Regions from separate parts of the Homo sapiens genome. Here regions 2, 3 and 4 are each linked to region 1. Evidence: promoter capture Hi-C in 16 types of primary human blood cells and fetal thymus (Javierre and others, 2016). All regions are on one chromosome and are shown on one strand. The core of a region is centred on a gene start or on the middle of the fragment in contact, and the rest is flanking DNA. Distances in the headings are between cores, read along the strand shown.

The links. The method cuts DNA at HindIII sites, captures the fragments that hold promoters and counts their contacts. A CHiCAGO score of 5 or more calls a contact.
Region 2: a contact is called between a fragment that was not itself captured here and the fragment with the promoter of CNFN in region 1, in 8 of 17 cell types (neutrophils, naive CD4 T cells, fetal thymus and 5 more). The highest score is 9.7, in neutrophils.
Region 3: a contact is called between a fragment that was not itself captured here and the fragment with the promoter of CNFN in region 1, in 5 of 17 cell types (neutrophils, naive CD4 T cells, naive B cells and 2 more). The highest score is 7.9, in neutrophils.
Region 4: a contact is called between the fragment with the promoter of GSK3A here and the fragment with the promoter of CNFN in region 1, in 2 of 17 cell types (naive B cells and total B cells). The highest score is 6.2, in naive B cells.

What each region holds. Positions count from the first base shown.
Region 1 is chr19:42,386,764-42,392,700 of GRCh38, forward strand. It overlaps CNFN (cornifelin), which reads right to left and starts at 3,534. Exons shown (of 4, transcript NM_032488.4): 1 at 3,477-3,534; 2 at 2,163-2,276; 3 at 577-713; 4 at 256-479. The coding sequence starts at 2,274. The coding sequence ends at 390. RefSeq lists silencers at 442-621, 642-821. The HindIII fragment of the contact is 9,287 bases long and covers 1-5,937 here.
Region 2 is chr19:42,148,302-42,154,238 of GRCh38, forward strand. POU2F2-AS2 (POU2F2 antisense RNA 2) reads left to right here and starts at 4,235. Exons shown (of 2, transcript NR_186341.1): 1 at 4,235-4,405. It also overlaps a transcript of POU2F2 not described here. RefSeq lists enhancers at 1,231-1,731, 1,732-2,232. The HindIII fragment of the contact is 5,333 bases long and covers 1-4,822 here.
Region 3 is chr19:42,166,832-42,172,768 of GRCh38, forward strand. It overlaps a transcript of POU2F2 not described here. Among named protein-coding and RNA genes, the nearest start is that of POU2F2-AS2, 17 kb to the left of the region's middle. The HindIII fragment of the contact is 1,654 bases long and covers 1,993-3,646 here.
Region 4 is chr19:42,239,184-42,245,120 of GRCh38, forward strand. It overlaps GSK3A (glycogen synthase kinase 3 alpha), which reads right to left and starts at 3,419. Exons shown (of 11, transcript NM_019884.3): 1 at 3,000-3,419; 2 at 772-959. The coding sequence starts at 3,282. RefSeq lists silencers at 2,961-3,240, 3,271-3,480 and enhancers at 3,771-3,980, 3,910-4,704, 4,041-4,090, 4,705-5,498, 5,101-5,160. The HindIII fragment of the contact is 12,371 bases long and covers 1,339-5,937 here.

The DNA.
Region 1 (5,937 bases), core at 2,284-4,783:
TCCTCCCAAGACTGACTTTCTGGTTTTGCTTATTTTCAGAATGCAGGCAGCTTCAGGCAGGGAGTCTGCAGCTAAAGAGTTAGTGGTTTTACTTTGTTAGGGTGAGGGCAACTGGGGTTTGGGAGGGATAACTTGACAAAGTCACACACTGCCTGGCGGGGTCACACGTAGGCATCTGTCTTGTCCCCACCTCTCTCACCAATCCTCTCTCTCCACCCAGATTCCTACCCTGGGACAAAATGGATGTAGGCGGAGTTGGTTTTCAGGTTTTTATTGTGGGTGTATTTCTGGCAGCGGGACAGGGGTGGTGAGGCAGTCCCTCCCAGGAGTGGCCAGAGAAGGCCAGAGGCGAGACTGGTGGAAAAGGACGGGGAAGACAGGGAACTTCCTTACTCTCGGATCTTCAGTTCCCGCGCCATCTGGCAGAGGGCGCAGGGCAGACAAAAGGTGAGGGCCGCCCAGTCGTGCCCGACGGAGCCCTAGAGGGTAGGAGAGAGCGGTCAGGAGCCCCGCGGTGGGTCCCAGGAGGCCAGTCCCCAGCTCCCTGCTCCCGCGGGTCCCCAGCCCGGCGCGCACCTGGATGTGGTAGCGCTCCCGCATGCCGGTGCGGATGGAGTGCAGGCCTCCGGGCAGGTAGGGCGCGCAGCAGCACTCGCCAAAGTCGTCGGAGATGCGGCAGGCAAGGCACAGAGGAGCAAAAGTGCCGCACAGACCTGGGCGGGGCGCAGGCGCTCAGGGGCGGGGCCAGCCGGGGCCTCCCGACGGCTCCGCCCCGGGGGGGGCGCGGTTGATTCGCCGCGGAGGGGCATTGAGGGTCCCAGCCAAGGAGAGGTCCCAGAGGGAATTAGAGGTCCGAGGAGAGGATGGCTTAGCGATTGGAAGGCAGGGTTTTTCTTTTTTTTTTTTTCTTCTTTTTTTTTTTTTTTAGAAATTGGAGGCTGGGTGCAGTGGCTTACGCCTGTAATCCCAGCACTTTGGGAGGCCTAGGCGGGAGGATCACGAGGTCAGGGGTTTGAGACCAGCCTACCCAACATAGTGAAACCCCGTCTCTACTAAAAATACAAAAATTAGCCGGGCGTGGTGGTGTGTGCCTGTAATCTCAGCTACTAGGGAGGCTGAGGCAGGAGAATCGCTTGAACCCGGGAAGCGGAGGTTGCAGTGAGCATAGACTGTGCCATTGCATTCCAGCCTGGGCGACAGAGCAATACTCCGTCTCAAAAAAAACAAAAAACAAAACAAAAAAAAAAACGAAAGAAAGAAAAAAAAAGAAAAAGAAATTAAAGTCTCGGTCTGTCATCCAGGCTGGAGTGCAGTGGTGTGATCACATGTCTCACTGTAGCCTCGACCTCCTGGGCTCAAGCAATCCTCCCGCCTCGGCCTCCCGAGTAGCTGGGACTACTGGTGTGTGCCACCACCTCGGGCTAATTTTATTTTTTATTTTTATTTTTGAGACGGAATCTCGCTCTGTTGCCCAGACTGGAGTGCAGTGGCGTGATCTCGGCTCACTGCAACCTCTGTCTCCCGGGTTCAATCAATTCTCTTTCTCAGCCTCCCGAGTAGCTGAGTTTACAGGCGCCCGCCACCACGCCCGGTTTTTTTTTTTGTATTTTTAGTAGAGACGGGGTTTCACCATCTTGGCCAGACTGGTCTTGAACTCCTGACCTTGTGGTCCACCTGCCATGGCCTCCCAAAGTCCTGGGATTACAGGCGTGAGCCACTGCGCCCGACCTATTTTTTATTTTTATTTTTGTAGAGATGGGGATCTCATTATGTTGCCCAGGCTGATCTTGAATTCCTGGCCTCAAGGGATTGTCATGCCTTGGCCTCCCAAAGTGTTGGGATTACAGGCATGAGCCACTGCACTGGGCCAGGAGCTAGGGTTTGAAGAGGGAGTTGGGGGTCACAGTGAGGAAAGCTGAGCATGCAAAGGGGAGGTTGAGGGCCTGATAAGTTGAGTGTGGGAAGGCATGAGGTAGTATCCTAAGGAGTGTTGGGGGTCTGAGGAAAGGGTGACTGTTAGAGTGGGAATTCCAAGTCCAGGGAAGGGAGGTGGGAGTGGGGTTAGCAAGCGGTGGGAGGAGGTTGGAGGTGAGCTTCCCTCTCCTGATTCCCCCCAAACCCATCTTCCACCAGGCCTGGAGAGGGAGCAGGCAGGCACTCACAGACAGGCATGTCGTTGCAGCAGTCCGTGAGACCTGTGTGCCAGTCACTGAGCTGGGTCTGGTAGCAGCTGGTGGTGGCGCACTGGGGCTGACTGGTCACAGGGTAGGACATAGCTGCAGAGGTGGGAGGGTAGGGGTCAGCTGGCAGCCTCGCAGCATCTCCTGGGCCCCGCACTTCGGCCACCCTTCCCTGTGCCGGGCAGTCTGGGCGGGGCCGCCAGGCCGCCCACTGAAGGGACACCACTGTGCCTCCCCCTTCCCTTCTGCTACATCTGGGCACCGGCAACCCCAGTCTGTCCCTGTTGCTGCTGGCTCCTGCACGTCTGGTTAGGCTGGGGGTGGGGGTCTCCTGCACATCTGAGGAAGGGTGGGGACCACATCTGGGTGGGGCCTGGCGGTGCCGCCTCCTCCTCCACGTCTGGGCCTGGGTTCTGGGTTGCAGCATTTCTGGGGCCTCTGGGGTGGAAGCAGGCGCCGTCTGTCTTCGAAGCAAGGGTGCCCAGGGGAGGGAGGCGGCCAGGTTCCAGTACTGAGAGGGTTGCTGGTCCACCCAGCGGTCCCACCTTTGCCTTTCACGTTGTCGTGCATCTCAAACTGCATCTTGCTGGCCCTGAGGAGGTGGCGTTGGGGACGGCAGAAGTGGCTGTGGCAACAGTGGCAGAGTCTGTCCAAGGGACGCTGGATACTGGGGAGGTGGGGGCAAGGGACTGGGGCACTGGGGGCTGGGCTCTCAGGGGGAGGGGAGCTGGGGAGAAAGAGGCCAAGTCAGCCTGTCAACCAGGAGAGACATGGAATAGGGAATGGATAGGGCGGGGGCGAGAAACTCGCCCATGTCTTTCCAACTGCCCGACAGATTGCAGAGGACCCTCCCCATACCCGAGATAGAGCTTGAGGGAGAACAAGAAATGGAGATGGACAGAGTCAGAGACAAGGGGAGAAAGATCAGAGCCAGGTGCCCGTAGAGATGTCACCAGTAATGCCCACATGTGCCCAGCACTTTGACTCCTCTGCAAGCCCATCTCACAGATGAGCACTGAGGCTCAGAGACATGAGGAGGAACGCCCCACGTCTGACGGCCCAGGCCAAGGGGGTTCATAGAGGTGATGCTGGGCCCCAAGACTTCTAAATTCAGCTCAGCACACCCCAGTTAAGAAGGACAGATTTGGGGGCATTGGGAAGGACAGAGATGTCCCGAGAGACCGACAATCAGCGATATGAAAGGAGACAGAGTGATATGAGTGGGATGAGGAGGAGGGAGAACAGAGCAGAGGCGCCCAACCTCAAAGAAGAGGGCTGCGGAGGGGATGTTCCTACCTGCAGGATCGCGATGGCAGTGATGGAGGCAGACGTGTGGAGACACGGGCACTGACTTCTCCGTCTCAGCCCAGAGCCACTTATATGGGCGGCCACGCAGCCCTGGGCGGGGCTCTGACAGAGGTGCCCAGGGAGCCAAGCCGGTCTGATCGACCCTCTCCCCACACTGGGATTTCCCGCCCTCCCTCTCCACTCCCATCCCCCCACTTCTCCTCCTGCCTCAGCTCCCAGGACCCAGGGAAAAGAAGGTGGCGGGGGGTGGGAGGTTTGGCGGGGGCGGGGGGCCACAGCCGGGTCAATGCGCAGAGACCAAAAGAGAGGGAGAGACAGAAACACAGTGTCAGAAAGGCAGGCAGGGAAGTCCCTCTAGACAGAAAGGAGAGAGAGGAGATTCAGAGAGATGGAGAGACGCAGGAAGATGTAGAGAGATGGAGAGGTGCCAAGAAACAGAGGGGCACAAAAATGTGAAAAGAAATAACAAGAAGAGGGGAGATGGGCCAGGCATGGTGGCTCTCGCCTGTAATCCCAACCCTGTAATCGCCTGAGGTGAGAGGATCGCTTGAGCCCAGGAGTTGAAGACCAGCCTGGGCAACATAGGGATACCCCATCTCTACAAAAAATACAAATAGAATTAGCCGGGCATGGTGGCATGTGCCTGTAGTCCCAGCTACTTGAGAGGCTGAGGCAGGAGGATCGCTTGAGTCCAGAAGTTTGAGGCTGCAGTGAGCCGTGTTCCCGCCACTACACTCCGGCCTCAGTGACAGAGCAAGACCCTGTCTTAAAAAAAAAAAAGGAAAGAAAAGGGGAGATGGGAGACAGAAGAGAGACGGAGATGGAAAAGTGGAGAGGCAGGTGGGGGGATCACTGAACAGGCTTAGAGGGCAGGGAAATGGGGAGAGGTGATGGGTGGGGAGAGAAAAAGGCCGGGTGGAGTGGGAGAGAGTGCTGTGTGGGACTCCCCTTTCAGGGTCTCGCTCATCTCTCTCAGTGATATCCCCACTTTCCTGGGAGAGGGGGACAGTGTCCTCCCCATTCAAGCCAGGAGACACATGGGGGGCAGTGTGTTTTGGGGAATGACTCATGTTGGAACCAAAGTAAATAAACACACCTCACCCCAGCTCCAAATTGGGAAGGGAGGAGGCTGGGAACTGAAAAGCCGCAGTTCCTGAAGGACGTGGACGTCACCTGGGACTCCTGGGTCCTAATGGAGCAAAGGAGTGGGGGCTTGGACCCCTGGGTCTGAGGGAGGAGGGGCTGGGGCCCTGGACTCCTGCGTCTCATGAGGCCAGGCTGCACATCCCTCAGTAGGGTAGGGGTCCTGGGATTCCACACTGCTGGGCTCCTGAGCAGGGAAGGAGCTGGGGGTCTGGGTGCCTGAATCGCCAAAGTTTCCCCCCAACAGGCCTGACGGGGTTGGGAGGTGACTCAGTGAGGGAAGCAGCATTAGAGCTGGGTGGGGTTCTCAGCACGGGTGTCACCCCAAAAATGTAGGAGGCACTAGAAAACTGGGGTGTCACCTGCAGAGAAGGTGGTGTCATCACCCCGCCGGGTATGGGGTGATGGCAGGTGGATCACCCTGCTAGCTGGGATCCCAGGTGTCCCCTCCCTCCCTCCCTCCCTCCAACACATTAGGACCCAAGCCTTGGTCTCCCAGCACCACCCAGATGGTTGGGTCTTCCTGTCCCCAGAACTCCCGGCAGCGCTCACTGTCTTGCCGGTGCACGTCCGTCATTGGTCCTAGAGCCTGGATGTCTGGGGGACATCTCCTCACTTGTGTCCTAACATCCCTGTCTCCTCATCTCTGAATCTTCGTCTCTCACCCTGCATCTTCACCTTTCCAGCTGTGAATCTGTCTTTCTTTCCTCATCTCTGCAAATCTCTTTCCAAATCTCTGTCTCTCCATCTCTGGGTCCCTCTCCTTCCAGGCTCTGTGTCTCTGTGCCCTTATCCCGGGGTCTCTGTCTCCTATGTCAAAATCTCTTCTGAATCTCGCTTCCCATCTCTGTTCATCTCCAGACCTGCCCTGTGGAGGCAGCTACAGGGCCCCATCCCCCCTGCTGTCCAGACTAAGGGTGCAGGTGACTCAAGGTCAGTCATCTCCGAGGACCCCAGGGCTCCCAGCATGACACTCTGAGTTGTCCTCAAGTTTCCTCTCTCACTCCTGACACAGCCTGGGGGCCCCAATTAGATCTAGCAATTCATGCAGGTGAGGAAATAGAGACTGGGGAAGCTGTGAGGTGGCCTGCTTGGGGGTGAGGAGGGCCGTGAGCAGGAGGAGGAGCTCCTGGGGGGCTGAGGAGTGATGGTGGCCCAGTCACCAGGCATTGGCCTACATCCTCCTCAAACAGGGTTGCCACATAAAATACAGGCTGTCCTGTAAAATCTGAAATTCAGATAAGCAACAAACAGGTTTTTTAGCATGTTTCATGCAGTATTTGGGACATATTTATACTAAAAAAGT
Region 2 (5,937 bases), core at 906-3,405, 240 kb before region 1:
TTTGTTTGACGGTAATGCCAAAAAATTCATAACTAGTGAAAAGTAAGCACTGTTTCAGGCATAAGCAAGCATATAGCATGTGGGTAAATACGTGGGTCTGTACACGCCTTTGAAACACAAATGCCGTCTTCCCACATCAGAGGGATCTCTCTAACACAGAGATCCTCACTCCCCTCCGCAAACCAGGTAGCTGTGAGGCCAGAGGTGGGGAACTGTGAAAGCTGCACTAATGTAGACCTTGTTGGTGTTGGGTGGAGGTGACTGGTCCTAGGTGAAGGAGAGAGGCTTGGAAAGGACACCCAGGGTCATCCTGAGATCCTCCTCATCCTCCAAATGCCCCCATCTGTCAACTTCCCCTCAATTCAACCCAAAGATGTCTGAATCCCTCTGCTCCTCCGGCTGTGCCTCCCACTCAGGACTTGCTCCTCCCCACCCCACCCCACCCCAGCCTCTACTGTTGCACGGGTTCTTCCTCACTTGCTCCACAAATGTCCCTTGAATCCTGTCTGTGTGGCAAGCAATGAACCAGACACCAGTGATGTCACGGCCCCTGCTCTGGGGAGCTGACAATGGACATGGACCCAGGCGTCTTGAATCCACGCCCCATGTTCCTTAAAGCATGACCCTGGTTGGGCCTCGCTCCCACCCAGACCGAGAGGAAAAATCTTGGCACCCTAGACCTGCCCACGTCTGCAGCTTCACCTTCCCAAGCCACCATGAGAAGGAGAGAGGAGGGGCGACCATGTTCCCCAGCCTGAAGATCCTGCCCTCAACTCCCTCCCTAGGAGACAGAGGACCCTGGGCTTTCAAGGCAACATAATCCACAGGGGAGGCCGTAAACACCCTTGGAGTAGCTCGCTTTTCAGGGGAAACCAAGGCTCAGGGCCAGCATGACTTGAGCAAAGCCACACAGCGCGTCTGTGGCAGACAGATGGGCCCCACCCCTCAGTTCCCAGCTCCATCTCTGCGAGTGTAGACTTGTTTGAACTTCCCTAGACACTGACACTGCCAAGAGAAAGAAGAGGGGCTTAAGACCCTTTTTCTGCGTGTTCTGCTGATGTTCCAAGGACCTGAGCCTCCACTTCTTTCTATGGCTGTGGGAGGGGAGATGAACCAAGAGAGATGGGGCTAGACAAGGGATGTGGGGCGCAGGCAGGGTAGAAAAAGACAGAGTGAAAAGCATACAGCAGGGCAGAGAAAAGAGGGGTGTAAGGAAAGAGTAACTGGGGACTATCAAGGTAGAACAGAGAAGTGTATGGGGGTTTTTAAATCCCTGGAGGGAGAGGCAGCAATAAAGGAAAGAGAGTCAGAGTCAAATAGAGAGACAGAGACAGGAAGATGCAGATAAAGAGGTAGAGAGAGAGAACAGCAGAAAGAGAGACAAAGAAAACAGGAGAGAAAAGAAAGAGGGAGGGAGGGGGAAGAGCAAGCAGAGGTGGGGCCACAAGGGCCTCCTGTAAATTGCTTCCCAACACCCTCTCCCCTGCCCCTCACACCAGCAGTCCAGCAGGGTGTGTGGTGTCGTCCCCATCCCTGAAGGGGCTGCTCCGGGCAGAGCTGAGACTGACACATGGGAAGGTGTCCAGCTCCCGGCCCTCTCTCTTTTCCTGCACCCAGCTGCCTCCCAAAGAAAAGGGCCAAGTTCAGTGTGGAAGGGGCAGAGACAGGCCCTGGGGGACTGAGAGCTGAAGTGCTGTAACCAGGGGCAGAGAGGCTGCAGTCTGTCTCCCCTCTTCAGTGCCTGGTCCCCACAGACACCCTACCTGTTCTTGTCCCCTGCTGGCTGCTGAGGGACAGGCTTTGGCTATCCTGACTTTGGCCAATGCCTCCCTCAACCTGTGGCCATCGTCTCCCTGCCTGGTGACCCCAACACCCTCCTGTACCTCCTCCTACCCATCCCTGTGCCCCCCAAGACCACCCATCCCATGGCCACCTTTCTGCTCCTCTGCAGGTTTGGGGTTAGGGAAGGGAGCACAGAGGCCTAGATGGGGGGTGGAAGGCTTGGTGGATTATTGAAGATGTGCGGGCACTGCGGCTGACATGGATGAGGAGGAAGAGGAGGGGGTCTTGGTGATGGACGATGCTGATCCTGCGGTGGGGGGAATGGCAGGGGAGGGGGTGGAGAGGGCTGGGGGAGGGGTGGTGAGGAAGCAGGTTCGGAGGGGAGCAGGACCAGGCTCACATTTGGCATTCAGGGCAGCTGACAATAAAAATGCTTTATTGCCAAGAAACTGGATCGATCGGGGCTGGAGGGGGCCGGCAGGGGGGACGCGGAGGGCTCAGCGCAGAGGCCGGCGGCCGGCCTTCGCAGCGACCAGGGCCCGAGCCGCCCTCCCCCCTGCACCCCCCTCCCTGCCTCCTGCCCTTTCTCTCTCCTGCAGCCACCGCTTAGTTCTTATTATATTTTTTCTTATATATTTTTCCCCCAGCTTCTCCTGCTCCTGTTTTTTTATTCTTTTAATTTTTTTTAAAACTCGCTGCACTCCCAATGCCGCAGGCCGGGTGGGGGTGGGGTGGGGGCATCTGCCTGGGCCAGGCCCCTATCCACAGGGTGCCCAGAACTGCTGGCTCTGGGATGAGCCCCACTTTGCTTCTGTATCCCCCAATCCAACCAGGCTCCTCCTAGAGCCTGTCCTCTGTGGATGCCCATCTCCCCCTGCCACCCCTCCAAGGGGCCTCCTTCCAACCTCAGAGTACCCACACACACATATCCATGGTGGGCTGAGGGCCCTGGCCAGGCCTTCCTCCCCTCCCCCCTACCTGGCCCCCTGCTCACTCCCGGAGCCATTTGGCTGATGGTCAGAACTGTCTGTCAAGGTGGCTCTGAGCCCCTGGGGACCCAGATGGGAGGAGGGAGGGGGAGAGGTCGGGGGTCAGGCCACGTCCCCTCAGCTTGTCTCTTTCCCCTCCCCCTTCCTAACAAAGGGAGCATCGGCCTGACACTGGCGGGATGGCCTGGTACTCAGGGAAGCGGGGAGGAGAGGGGCTGTGGGGATGGCCATGGGCAGAAGGCGGGGGTGGGGGCCGCCTGCCCCTCCTCTGCCCTCCCCCTCGGGTCAAGGCTAAGGTGATTCCTCAACCTCTCGGAGGCTGGGCTGGGAGGAGAGGAGGATCTGGACAGACAAAGAACTGGAGCCCTGGGGAGTTGGGGGCTGGGGGGACGCACCTGGGACCAGGGCAGTCCTGGCTGAGGGAGGGGCAACAGGCACCCCTCTGGCCCTGCTCTCACCCTCTGGATGGCCCTGCCTCCCATCTGTACCAATCCCTACGGATCCCAGAGCCATACAGACCTTCCAGCTTGGGCAAGGTCGGATGGGGGTGGGGGGAAACTGAGGCCCAGAGAGGGGAGACGGCCCAGGCCCAGGGTTCTCAGCGCTGTCCCAGAGTCTCTCCCCTCACTTCTCTTCCTACTAAGGGAAGACATCTTCCTCTCCTGCCCTCCCCCACCCAGGTCAGGGGAGGTTTGGTGGGGGCAGATGGTAGAAGGTTCTATGGAGAGGGAAGAGGAGGCTGAGGAAAAAGTGAGGCTAAGCGTTCTCCTCTCTTAAGCCAGTGGGCAGGGGAGGAAGCCAGAAGAGAAAAAGTCTAAATGTGACCTTGAGCACTGGCCTGGCACAGCTGTGGGAAGAAACTTAACGTCCGTCAGAAAGGGCAGGAAACCAACATAGACAGGGTGCTCCTGAGTACCTGGCTAGCGGTGGCTGGGGAAGAGGCCTTCAGACAGTTTTCCCCTTTTGCCCATGGCTACAGTGAAGGAGGAGGATTCACACTCTGGTTGGTCACAATCCACCCATGACACTGCGTCAGGGCCTCCCATCCACCCAGCCTGACTGTGGGGCGCAACGGGTAGCTGAGGCAATGAACAGCTGTGAGCCCCCATGCCCACAGGGATATGGAGCCTCCAAAGAGACAGAAGGAAACAGGCAGATCTTCTGTGCTTAAATTCTCCTATGAAGGCTGAGGTGACTCTCGGGGAGAGGGCCGCAGCGAAGAAGAAGAGGGGGAGAATAAGGCGGGCCTCTTTTGGAGGGGGTGGGATGGGCTCACACATGCCCCCACAGCCTGCCAAGAAGGCCCCAGATGGGCCGAGGACTATAGGGGTCCCGGCTGCCCTCCCCCAAACCTCCCCTCCCTTCTCTCCCTCTCTCTTTCTCGGCTGGCTATCGACCGGGGCTGTGACATGGTGGATCAATACGGCAGGGATATAAAGCCGGCTGGCTGGCTGCCTGCCTCTGCCTCTCTCTCTCTCCCTTGCTTGCCTTGCTTCCTTTTCCCGGAGCCGCACCCAGGTCCCCCACCATCATGTACCCCTTACCCAGGCCTCTGAGGGGCCAGGCACCCCCCACCACTCCCCTACAGCAGGAGAGCTTAGGGAGGCTGAGAGCTTGGACAGCCGGGAGAGGGGGTGAGTATGGGAGTGGGCAAGGAAGCAGATGGGGATGGGGGCCATAGTTTCAGGTAAGGGGGCTGGGAGAAATTGAGGGACAATTTCTGGGAGAAAGCAGGCATCCCCTCAATTGGGAGCAGCTCAGAAAGATGGGGCCCTTTGAAGGTGTGTGACGGACAGAGCTCTGGGAGGTGGGCAGGGGGCACCTGTGGGTTCAGAGAGACACTGTCCTGAGCCCATGAGGCAGGGGAAGGTCTGGGGTGGGTGCTGGAGTAGGCTACGGTGAATGGACACAAAGAACAGTGGGGCGAACCCTCAGGCCGGCCTGCGCCCACCCCCAGAGCTGCTGGCTGCCCCGCCTTTGGGTCCCTGCGGGTAGAAGTTGCCTTGGCCTCACCCCAGGGTCTGGCCTGCACATGTGTGGTTGGGGTGGGAAGCTTGTGCGGCTTCGGACAGGAGGTTCCAGCGAGAGGTCTGTGGTGTGCGAGCTGCCATGGACGCAGGGTGTGCATGTGTCCTCAGGCTCTGCTGGGGGATTCTAGGACTGCACATACCCGAGCGTCTTGGCCCGAGTCATGTCTGTGTGTGAACATGAGTTCATGGATGTGTCCCAGGAGCACTGGGTGGCTGTGTATGCACTTCCATGAGTGTTTCCCTGACGCTAAGTCTCTGTCTGTCCCTTGGGGATGTATCCCAGGAACACCTCAGGGATCTCCTCTGTCCCCAGTTAATGGGGTAGCTATGTGTTCCCATGTGCTCTGGGAAGCCTGTGTGTGTTGGCGTGCGCATGCCCCTGACAGAGTGTGTCTGAGCACGGATGCTGCTGTGCGTGAGCCTCCATGGGTCCCGTGTGGATCTGTGCCTGTGCCTGTGGGCAGCTGCGTGTGCTTCAGGGATCTGCGCGGTGGTCTCTATGTGTACTGGAAGCAGGTTCTCCTCATGAGTGTCGGAGAGTCCATGCGGTTTCTCTGTGTGTCTATGTGATGCTGTGTGTCCCTGTGTGCCGATGGTCGAGTGTGTTTCCACAAGTGGGCTGGAGGCTCTGGGTGTGTCCCTGTGTGTGTCATGGTGACTTGGTGTAGACGGCACGGTGTATGTGTGTAGAGGCTACAACCCTGAGTCTCTGAGTGGGGGAGGGTGGCGAGGCAGCAGGGGCTGCCACGGAGACACTGGCTAGCCGGTTTTATCACTACATCATCTCCAAATCCCAATGTCAGGGCCTGCCTGCCTTCTTTCCCTTCCCTGCCAGAGACCCCAGACCCCTGCCAGGATGGGCCCAGGCCCCCGTCCCTCCCCCGGCACCTTGGGCAGGCTGTACCTCTGCTCCTCAACACCCCTGCTTTGGTGGATGCCACCTCAACTCCACCAAGCGACCTCCGTCCCTCCCAACCCCCCCAGCGCCACCCGCTCCCCCCGCCCTCCCCCCACCACAAGTCCAGTCCAACCCAGACAAAAGCAATTACTCCAGAGGTAGGATGTGAGTGTGGGTGTTAGAAACAGGAAAAAAAGGGGGGGACAGGGAGGGGGAGCGAGAGAGACACAAACAGAGG
Region 3 (5,937 bases), core at 1,570-4,069, 220 kb before region 1:
CCTGAAGGTGAGCTCTGCCACCCTTGTCTGACACAGCAGACGTCTACCTCCACCATTATATTGGGCAAGCAGGTGATATATTGGGCAAGTAGGTGATATATTGGGCAAGTAGGTGACAGGGGATCCGGCTTCAGTTCATTTGACAAAACATTCAATGAGCACTTATCGTGTTCTGGGCACTGTGCTACACACTAGGGATACAACTATGAACAACACAAAGTCCCTGCCATCGTGGAATCCACCTTCTAGTGGAGGAAGAGATATGATACACAAGAAAATATATTTAAGACCTAAGAAGGAAAATAAAGCAGGGAGAAAGTGGCTTACAAGATGCTGCTATTGGCCAGGCACAGTGGCTCATGCCTGTAATCCCAGCACTTTGGGAGGCCGTGGCGGGCAGATCACCTGAAGTCAGGAGTTCGAGACCAGCCTGGCCAACATCATGAAACCCCGTCTCTACAAAAATACAAAAATTAGGTAGGCATGGTGGCGTGCGCCTGTAGTCCCAGCTACTCAAGAGGCTGAGGCACAAGAATCGCTTGAACCTCAGAGGCAGAGGTTGCAGTGGGCTGAGATTGCACCACTGCACTCCAGCCTGGGCAACAGAGCAACACTCTGTCCCCCCAAACTCCAAAAAAAAAAAAAAGCTGCTATTTTAAACATAAAGGAAAAGCCTATCAGAGAAGGTAGATTTTGACAGCTTTCCTGGCAAAGGAAACAGCAAGTGCAAAGGCCCTGGGTCAGGAACAAGGTTTAAGGAACAGCAAGAAGGCCAGAATGGCTTGAGCTTCCAGAGCCAGGAGGGAGGGAGTAAAAGTTGAATAGACAGACAGGCGCTAGCTCATACAGGGTTTGCAAGCCAAGAAAGATGTTCTAAGTGTGATGGGAGAAATGACAGGCTCTCTCTGTGGCAGGTGAGGGTTGGTCTCACCCTCACAAAACCAGGCTCCAGCCTCACCCATTGCCCATATTGCCTATGGGGCCTTCTGACCCATTCATTCTCCAAGAACAAGCCCAAGAAGCCCTCAGTAAGCCCTCGGAGTCCCTTGACAGGGCTTTGTCAGGGTCAACCTCCCCAGACTGAGGACTACTCTAGAACATGGAAAGATCTGCCTCATCTGGGTGACTGGGCATGCAGCTCAGGCCTGGCCACAGGAGGCTCAGAAATCAATAGAACGTCAGTAGAAAGTAAGGGTGACTATAGCTCCTGACCTCCATTCCCTAGCAAATCTCCATTTGGGGGCAAGTCGTAGCAGTGGCCAAGATATGGGGCTGGGAGCAAGGGGAAGGTAGTTCTGTACCACCTCCCTCACCAGACCTTGGCCAGGGTTCCCAGACTGGACAGGTAGAGCAGAAGTCCTTGTGACTGGTGGCCTGCTCACTGGATCCCTTCCTCCAGGGGCTACCCATCCTGTCCTGTCCCCACACGAGGCTCAGAGAGATCAGACTTGGTACCTGGCTCACATGCTCTGTCTAGTCCCTCTCAAAACTGTTTTGTGGTTATGTGGTGCGCCCTGAATAAATCCCAAGCCTCACAGTGCTTCCCAGTCATGTAAAGTCTCCTCTCAGTCCTCCTGAAGGTCCCGTGACCCTGGGCCTCACATGATTGCTGGGAACAGTCTAGGCTTGTTCACATGTCCATGCCCTTGCCCAGGCAAGCATCTCCATTTAGACAGTCTTCTGCCTTCTTCTCTGCACCTTATCACCCTCTCCATGTCTCCTCCTTGGTGAATCTTCCTGGGCTCCCCACTCAGCACTGCCCCAGAATGCTTTGTGCACCTCATCCAGAGCCCAGAATCTGGGCCCCAGGTGAAAGGATCCCATTTCCCACCTAGGGACATGCCAGAGGAGTTTTCTAGAGGGAAAAGTGCGGCATAGTGGGGTAAGGGTAGGGGCATCTGAGTGCTGCATTATTTATGCCTGTGTGGGCTCTGTGAGTTTCAGGAGGGATATGTGTACACATTTAGAATCTGTGTGTTGTGCCTGATGTCAAGCTTAAATGTCACTTCCTCAGAGATGTTACACCTAGCCTACCAATCTAAACCAGGTTCTTCCGTGATGCCCTCCTGTAGCCCCTTTTTCCTCTCCTTACCAGGTGTATTTATAACTAACTATACACTGAGGTCTGATCAGTGCCAGTCCTGTTGGCTTGGAGCTCTTAGAGAGCAAGGCCCAGGTCTGTCTCGTAAACCACTGTTTCCTCAGCTTCTAAGACAGGGCCTGACTCCTATAGAGGCTCAGTACCTATGTGATGAGTTAATTAATTCTATACACATTTTCACACTTGAACATCTACCTATTTTGTTTTGCTTTAGGGGGATGAGGCTAGCCTGGGGGGTGTTTGTGTGCTATAACTCAGGGCATGGCCCTTTCGGTCACCACGTGTGGCCTCCCTGTGGGATTTCTGAATGTGGCCTGTGTGCACCCACAGGCATATAGGCTGGGATGCTGCCATGTTTTAGTATTTCTATTCGTACATTTTCTATTGAAAAACAAATCTCCACACGAGGAGCACCCTGGTGTTTTGGTGTCTGTCTTGCCCTGAGAGGTCTCAGCACCTATGTGCCTGCACAGACATCTGGGTTTTCATACCTGTGTCTGAGTATGTGTTTACCCCTGTTTCCAAACCTGGTGTGTCCATTTTGGCATCTCTGTGGACAAATATACAAACGTCTATGTGCATCTGCAGGGTTTAGCATCTATGAATTTTCTTAGGGAATCTCTGACCAAAAGTATGGGTATCTGGCTCCCAGGACCCAAGGGTGCACATGGCTACCATGTGTTTCAGAATCTGTGTATGTCTCTTGCAGGATCATTGCATGTGTCTGCATGCTTATGTATTTCAGTATTTGCCTTGTGCATCCGTTCAAGACTTACGTGGCCTCTCTAGTTTGGCGAATGAGTGCGCGCACACGTGTGTGTGTGCGTGTGTGTGTGTGTCGGGGTGATATAAACACATGTGCGTGTGTACCTGTGTGTCTTTCTTCCCCTCGCTGCTGCGCCTTCCCAGTCTGGATGAGTACCTTTTCTCTGTCTCTCTCTCTCTCACACACACACCCTTGCTCATATGTGCCTTGCAGATGGGGAGGGGGCCGGGGTGTCAGCGAGCTCCTGTGTCACAAGGTTAATTTCTCCACAGCCAGGCAGGCTGGGCCCTGAGGGGAGTGGTGGGGGAGGGGCTGGTCCCCACAGCCCCTCTGATAAATATGTATTTGGGGCTGCTGTGCTCAAAGGTCATGGGGGGAAAAGGAGGAGGAGGGGTGGTCTGCACTGTGCTGTGCTGCTGGGTCCCAGCCAGGCTCAGCATGGGTTGTGTGACCCCCCTCCAGAGGTCTGATGAGATTCAGGGAGATGCCCCCCTCATCCTGGTCTGGCCCACTCCACCCACATCCATGCTCCGAGGGAGATGCTGCTGTGGACACACAGATATTCAAACTCTGAAACAGGCAATCACACAAGCCCACACCCGCCGACACCTAGACAGAGGCTCAAACAGATGCACAAAGACGGCCTCATGGGCCACCAGATACATGGAAGGCTCAGAGTGCAGAGCCAGACCCATCGCTTCTTCCCCACCCCAACCTTCAACCCAACGCCAAAAAAAAAAAAAAAATGCTCAAGAGTGCATAGTGTCTCACAGTAAGAAAGCTTTCTACACATTCAATAGACGCAAACACACACACGGACCCAAAAATGCAGAGTCCAACAAGAAAGGTCCCTGAACACTTTGTGGGTGGGCATGTACACATAGACGCACAAGCAAACACATACACAAAGGCACATACATAGATGCACACCAGGAGTCCCAAAGATACAAAGTTCTACGAAGGTAGGCACATGCTGACAACTGCAGATAAATGTATGAACACACATGCACACAAACATGCACACATACAAAGACCCCAAGACACACACGGCAGGCAGGATGCATGGTGGATCCAGGCTGGGAAACCCACCCTGCTGCAACAGAGCCGGATCTGGCCCTTTCCCCGCTGAGGCGAGAATGGCTGCCTGGTCTCTGGTCATGGGCCCCCAGCCAGCTTCAGCCAAATGCGCCATCATTTGTCCAGCTCTGAGTCACATCAGTTGTCGAGCCTCCCCTCCTCGCTGACCAGCCATCTCGGCCATCAGCGGCCTCGGCCATTAGTCGGCTCCTGCCTCTGGCCTGCATTTGTTGAATCTCCCTTACCTGGCAGAACCGTCCGGACCAATGGAACCCTTTTGGAGTCGGCCTGACCTTTTCCTCAAGGGATTCCGATGTACCCTGTTGTATGACCCTCGGCCCATGCCTCAGGGCGACCCTCCCCTCAGCACACTGCTCAGGCTGTCATTCTTCAATGACCGCTGGCCACAGTAGTTCTGGTGGATTGTGAGGCTGTGTGTTTGAGTATGTGTGGAAGTCCGCTTGTAGGTATATGTGTATGGGTGGTGGGATGGCTATAGCTGTGCTTTAAGTCAAAATGAGTGTGTGTGTGTATGCGTGTGTGTCTGTGTCTGTGTGTGAATAAGGGGATAGGAAGTCAGCAGCTGTGCTTAAAGTCAGAGTGCCTGAGTATATGGTTGTATATATGGGGAGATGGAATGTCAGGGGCTGCGCTTCGTGTGTGTGTGTGTGTGTGTGTGTGTGTGTGTGTGTGTGCACTTTAATGCAGGAGTGACTTGGTGTATTGGCCTGGGCTTGGCGTGGGGGGCCATGAGGGGCCGTGTCTGTTTTGGGCATGGGGGGCAGTGCGGTACAGGCATCTGTTTCTCAAGCAGTTGTGAGCAAGTGGAATGTGCCTCTCTCAGACTCCGTTGCTTGTGTTTGTGAAAGTGACAGATGCTGCCTCCCTGGCCTCACTGCGGCGGATTAAGTCTGTGAATGCCACATGAGTCTGCACCCCGGGTGGGGGAGGGTCCCCAGTCTGCTCTTATACTTGCGTGTGTGGGCCACAGCCCTATACTTTATAGGATCCTGAGAGTGTGGACTAAAGTAACCCCCAACCTTGTTGGTTTCTGTGAGGGAGACCCTGAATGGATGCCAGAATAAAGGTCCCTGTGTGTGTGTGCACAAGCACACTCATGCTCATAGACAAGTCCGTATTGTCCAAAGTACGTTGTCACGAGATGCATGTGTATATGTGTATGTGTGTGTGATTGCAGGCATAATAGCTCCCCGCTGCCAGCCAGATCAAGTTCCAACTTCTCAGAGCAGCAGCTGAGCCTCCACAGACAGGGCCTTGCAACATTGTGCCAACCTCTACTCTTAGACTACACCTCCAACCTGGGCTGCTTTCTCCTCACTTTCCTCTGCCATCTTTATGCCCTGCCACCAGTCTGCTTTTCTCAGTATCTGAGCATCCTTAAAGACTCACCTCCCTGTCTAAACCCACACCATCTTCATTCCCCAGATTCCTAATGACCTGGAAACTCCCTTTGTGCTCACAGTCCAGGCGCCCAGAATCCTGTCTAAGGCTGGGATTGGTTCTGCTTCAGAGTCTAGGCCTTTGTTGGCCCATGGTCAGTGCCTAGCGATCATTTTCAGGTTAAGGAGTGATCATACCACCATTGCCCGATTACCTCAGGGAACTCACTGGACTTTATTTGTTCAGTGATTCACACCACTCAATAAATACCTATTGAATGCAGGGACCTTGCATGTGGAGCCACCACCTTCAGCCTCCTTCCGAATGCGTCAGAGCTGGGAAAGCTGCCTGTCCCGAGGATCTAATGAAGTTGGGGTGGTGATCGAGTGAGGGAAAATGCACCTGCCTCCCAAGGCCACCATGTGGATCTGAAAAGGTGACACAGGGCTCACCAAAAGGGGTAGGGGGGACCATAAGCTCATGCAAACCCCTGTGTTTGAACAGGCCCAGCCCCAAACCATCACTGATGGAACGAGCTCAACCATGCTCATTTGCTGGCTCTCCCTTCAGGATATAAAGCGAGACCCACATC
Region 4 (5,937 bases), core at 2,169-4,668, 150 kb before region 1:
CCTAGGAACTCCCTGCCCCTACATCCCTCTTACTTCTGGAACTCAACTCCAATCAAATTCTGACACCCTGGAGCTCCTCCTGCCCAAGGGCCCTCCCTGCCAAGACCGAGGCCCTGGTCTGGTTCCTTTCCAGTCTAGGCTCAGTTCTCCTACATCCAGACTAGTCTAAGCTCCAAATGCCAGGCCCTTAAACACCAATTATTCCTCAACTTCCACTTCCTCCATCTCCTTCTAGTTCCCTGAGCCTCTCCTAGCTCACAGGGCACCTCCATTCCATTCTGCGCTGGCCAAACACCTGGGAAGAGCGCGACCTTCAGAACCACCCGCGCTAGCCCTGCCAGGTCCCTTTCTCTCCTGGGAAGAAGTGTAACCAAATGGTTAAGGTAGAGGGTTTGGGAATCAGATTCCAGCCTTGACTGGGGCACTTGCTCTATGACCTCAGGCAATCCTCTTACCTGAGTTTGTTTCCCTGCTTTTAAACTTAGCTTACACTTAGAATGGGTATAACCACAGTACCTACCCTCAGAGAATCTTTATGTAAATTAAACAAGAATTTGCTTATTAAGCACTTACATTGAGCAAATGCCCAGTAAAAGCTCTGGGCTCTCCTGGGATCCACATTTCCCATCTTTCACAGGTCTCATTTCCTCTTTTCCCCCTTCTCTTCTGGCCCATGGCTCTGAAACCCAAGCCTCCAGCTCTCTGGCTCAGGTTCTCCCACCAGTCACACCCAGTCCCCAAACCTCCCTGTCCCCATCCCGCCCAAGCTACCTTGAACCTCTTGTCCTGGAGAACCTTCTTGATGGCGACTAGTTCCCTGGTCTCTGCCAGCCGTGCCTGGTACACGACCCCAAATGAGCCATTGCCAATCACTTTGATGTCCGTGTAAGCCACTTCTTGGGAGCGCTCTGGGCCTTGGCCTAGAGTGGCTACGACTGTGGTCACCTTCCCGCTGTCACCTGGGGAACAAAGGGGATACACGATCCACTGACCCATCCTGCCTGCGCATCACCCTATCCTGGGGCTGTGGGAGGAAGGGAAATCTCTGCAGGAAGCTCGTTGGGGACCTCTTTGTCCCCTCCTCCTCTTTGAGGAAAGGTGGATGCTGGGACCTTCCCAGTGACTTTTCCCCTCTTCCTTTCTGGGAATCTTAAGTCCTGCTCCCCTCCACATAGGAGGATATTGATACCTAAATCTCTCTGCTTCAAGGGTTGGCAACCCCAAATTTCTACTTCTAGGAAGCAACAGATCACTGGTCCATCTTGGTACTGGGAGACATCAGATGTTGACTCCATCTACTCTGGATCTACTGCCCTCTGGCCCCTCCTATTTGGAGAAAGCTTGACCGAGCCTCTTCCACTTCAGGGAGCAGTAACCCTGAGGTACTCCTACTTTAGGAAAGCACTAACCTCTCTCACAGCCTAGAGGATACTGACCTCTAAGTCCTCCCCTGTAGAGCTGGTAACTTTACTGGTTCTTGGTGACAGAAATGAATGTCCTCTCCTGCTATAAGTGCCAGTGCCCTGACCCTCACTTTTTGGTACTTTGAGGTTAGAAAAAAACACTGACCTGACCTCTTCATCTGAGTGGTCCAGAGACCCAGACCCCTCACTATATGTGGGTGGTCCCTAATGGACAAGCACCAAATTATGATAATGATGAACCTGACCTTTATTATCAAGGAGCTATTCCAGCCTCAGTCCTTTGAAGGAAAGCTATAATTCCCAATTCCCATTATTCAAATGGTGGCAAACCTTGGTGCCATTCTTAGAGGATAGTGACCCCTTTGAGTAACTGATGAACCAAATCCATTTTTTTGTTTTTTTTTTTGAGACACAGTTTCGCTCTCGTTGCCCAGCTGGAGTGCAGTGGCACGATCTCGACTCACTGCAACCTCCGCCTGCTGGGTTCAAGCGATTCTCCTGCCTCAGCCTCCCGAGAAGCTGGGATTACAGGCGCCCGCCACCACGCCCAGCTAATTTTTTATATTTTTAGTAGAGACAGGGTTCCACCAGTTGGCCAGGCTGGTCTCGAACTCCTGACCGCAGGTGATCCGCCCACCTCAGCCTCCCAAAGTGCTGGGATTACAGGCGTGAGCCACCGCGCCCGGCCACCAAATCCATTTTGAGGGGCCAGTGACAAGTTCTTTCAGAGGGAGATAACCCTACATCACTTTTTTTTTTCAGAGCCAATGACACCATACCTTAGAACAATTATTAAAAAAGTATAACCTTAGATCCATATTCTGTAGGAAACTGTGACCTACCCTGCTCCATTCCATTTTTGTTAAAGGAGACACACCAAGCCATGTATTTTAAAACATGGACTATGGACTTGGTTTGAAGGATATGCTGACTCCCAATGTCTTTATATCTAAAAGGCAGTAACTATTAATTCTCACCATTGGCAGTACAGCTCAACAAGATTTAGGGTGGGTAATGATGCCAGGTCTTGGTTTTAATAGGGAAGATGATCTGAGTACCAGGTTTGGAAAGCCTGGCCCTATTCTTTGGGGACAAAACACAGTAACCTCAAAGCCCTGCTTCTAAGTGATATTCGCTCCAAATCCCCATCTTCTGAAGGACAGGGAATGCAGATCCCTCTTTTTCGGGGTTGGTCTTATTCTTGTTCTCTTAGGAGACAATAACCCTAGATCCCCATTTGCAAGCGACTGTGACCTCTGATCCAATATTATAATGAATAGCAACATCAGATACCTGTTCTTAAGGCTCAAGGACCCAAGACCTCAATAATGGAAGAACAGAGACTTGTAACCCGTTTCTTTAAGTGTTAGTAATTCTGATCCACGAGTAATTCTGATCTCCAAGAGATGGTAACCCCAAGACTCCTTTTCCTGGGAGGAAGAGGGCTCGGATCCCCGGTATGGGGAGGCACAGTGACCTCGAGCTCCTATCTAAGCACATGAAAGAATCTGATGGATGTCTGAGGAGCTTTGGGAACCCTAATCACCACCCTACACGGGCGCCACTAGTACTCACGGCCCAGCTTCACCCCGGGCGGCGGGAAGCTAGTGCCTGCGCCGGGGCCTCCGCTGCCTCCTCCGCCGCTGCCGCCGGGTCCACCCCCGGAGCTCGAGGCCCCGACGCCCCCACCCATGGCCCCGACAGATGCCTTTCCGCCGCCGGTGCCGCCTGGGCCGGAGGCCGAGCCTCCGGGGCCGCCGCCGCCTCCTCCGCCTCCGCCGCCGGGCTCCGCGAACGAGCTAGTCCGCGCCCTGCCCGAGCCCCCAGGGCCGCCTCCCGAAGGCCCGCCGCCGCTCATGGCGCCGAGCACAGGCCCAGGCTGCGGGGCTCGGGCTGCCCGGGCTGCCCCAGCCGCCGCCGCTGCCGCCGCCTCCCCCGGGCCCTGGCCTCTTCCAGGCCGCGCCGCTCTGGCTTGGGCTCCGGCTCCGGCCCAGCGCCCGCCGCGGGGCACGCCGGGAGATGCAGTCCGGCTGTCGTCCGCGCCGCCGTCACCGCCCTCGGCCCGCACAGAGAGCCGCGTGGCACGCCGGGAAATGAAGTCCACAAAAGCCTCAGAGTAGACCGCGGGAATGATGGGCGGGAATGACGGGTCACGCTGTACGTCGGGAAATGGAGTCCAGGGTAATCTGTCAGCCGACTGTACGACGGGGAGCCCTGAAGCACTTTAGGAAGCAGAGAGCCTGATGCACGCTGGGAAACGGAGTCCACTCACTCAGTCTATTAGCTGTGTATGCCTCCCAGAGCTCGGTGCGCTCTGGGAAATTGAGTCGGCCCGCGTGAACCTGCGGGTCTCGGGCCGTGAGGCAAGCCGGGAAATGGAGTCGTCGCCACGCCCTCACCGCATTGCAGGTGTAAAGCGATTTTTAAAGCACGCCGGGAAATGGAGTCTCAGGTGGTTTTTAAGCCCCAGGTGGATACTGCAGTTCCGGAGATGGGCGAGGAAATGGAGTAGGTTTACGCGCTCCTCTTTCCAGGTACGCTGGGCCGCAGTCCCTGCCGGGAAGTGTAGTCAGCACCAAGGCCTCAGTGCAGTTGCCACAGCGAGCCCTGGTGTGTTCTGGGAAATGGAGTTCGACGTATCCTCCCCATTGACTGAGGGGGCGGGATCGCCCATGAGCTCCAAGCATGCTGGGGAATAGTCCAGACCTGACCCTCTGTGAGGCCAGTCTGCGGAGGCTTGCCGGGAAGCGAAGTCCAATGGCCACCATCAGGGGCGTGTGAACGAAAGGTTAGAGACTGCGGCAGTTCCCTGGAGAGACTTAAAAGTGTTTCAGCGCCTCCTTCCTCGCCCCCAGGTCCTTCTTTAAGAAAGAGCCGAGGTCGATCAAGGACTGCTGGAAAATGGATCCAAGCACCTTTAAGTTCCAGGTGACCATAGATCAGGAAAGAAAAAATGTCCCCTCTCTAACCGCAACTCTGCAAAGATTCGGGAAACAAAGTTCCCGGCGGTTTCTCAGAACACTAACTAGTCTTCGGATACAGTCTAGCTTTTCCTAGCAATGTGGTTCGCACCAGGAAGCTGAATGGAGCATTAAAAAGACGGAAATGTCATTTCTGGGCCTGGCGCTGTGGCTCAGGCTGGGCGCCAGTAGCTCACGCCTGTAATCCTAGCACTTTGGGAGGCCGAGGCTGGCGGATCATCCGAGGTCAGGAGTTCGAGACCAGCCTGGCCAACATAGCGAAACCCCCGTCTCTACTAAAAGTACAAAAATTAGCCGGGTGTGGTGGCGGGCGCCTGTAATACCAGCTACTCAGGAGGCTGAAGCAGGAGAATCGCTTGAACCCGGGAGGCATAGGTTGCAGTGAGCCGAGATCGCGCCACTGCACTCCAGTCTGGGCGAAAAGAGTGAGACTCCGTCTCAAAAAAAAAAAAATCCTGTCTTGAACCACCATTCAGTTTTCAGTTTTTGGTTTGTTTTGAGACAGGGTCTCGCTCTGCCGCCCAGGCTGGCGGGCAGTGGCGCAATCACAGGTCACTGCAGCCTCTAACTCCCAGGCTCAAGCAATCCCCCCACCTAAGCCTCCCATGTAGGTGGGACTACAGGCGTGCACCATCACGCCCAGCTAATTTGGTTTGGTTTGTTTTTTGGGGTGGTGGGGGGTAGCGGGGTGGGCTTCGCCATGTTGCCCAGGCTGGTCTCCAATTCCTGGGCTCAAGCGATTCTACCTCAGCCTCCAACGTGCTGGTATTTCAGGCTTGAGCCACGGCACCGGGCCTCCCACTCTTGTGTTTTGCATCCTCCGCTTCCTAAATTACAAGATCCCGGAAAGCCAAAAATAAGGAAGCCAGCTGCCTCAGGTTTTGTGTACTCAGTGAGTCGTCCTATTTATCGATTAATACCCGAAGGAGAGTAGCCCCCAAAAGGCGCTGGGAAACAGAGTTCCTGTGTCTGTATGTGTCTCTTCCTCCCCCGGAAATACTTAGAAGTAGAATGAAAGCGTTCTCAGCCCCTCCCGCATCCTGGAATGGTGGGAAATGGAGTCTCTGGACTTCACGTTAATCCGAGCTTGTGCTTATACTAACTGTCCTGTCCTTTCTGAAACCAGAAGAAAGTCCTGTCCACTCAGTTTGTTCCTGACTGCAATTCCCCGCGGACACAACTGCGGGGGTCGGTAGCGCCAAAGCCTGTTGAGACTACATTACCCAGAAGGCAAAGTGCGGAACACTTCCGCTCCCTTCACAAAGCAGGTGGCCGCACCACGCGCGGCTAGGCGCGGGCGTTTCTGGGAGTTGCAGTTTCCCAGCCAAATGGTACCTGCTGCCCTCTGATGGCAGCTCTGAGTCAAAAAGTAAAAATTTCAGTCGAGCCCCTTGGCCTAGGGATTCCAACGCGGGACCAAGACGGCTCAAAAGGGCGGCGACATGGGGCAGGATAGCGAGGGTTATTTAACCGCCAGAACCCGTGGGGCATGCGCCGCTGCGTGTGGGCAACCGCCACGAGGGGATTGGGGT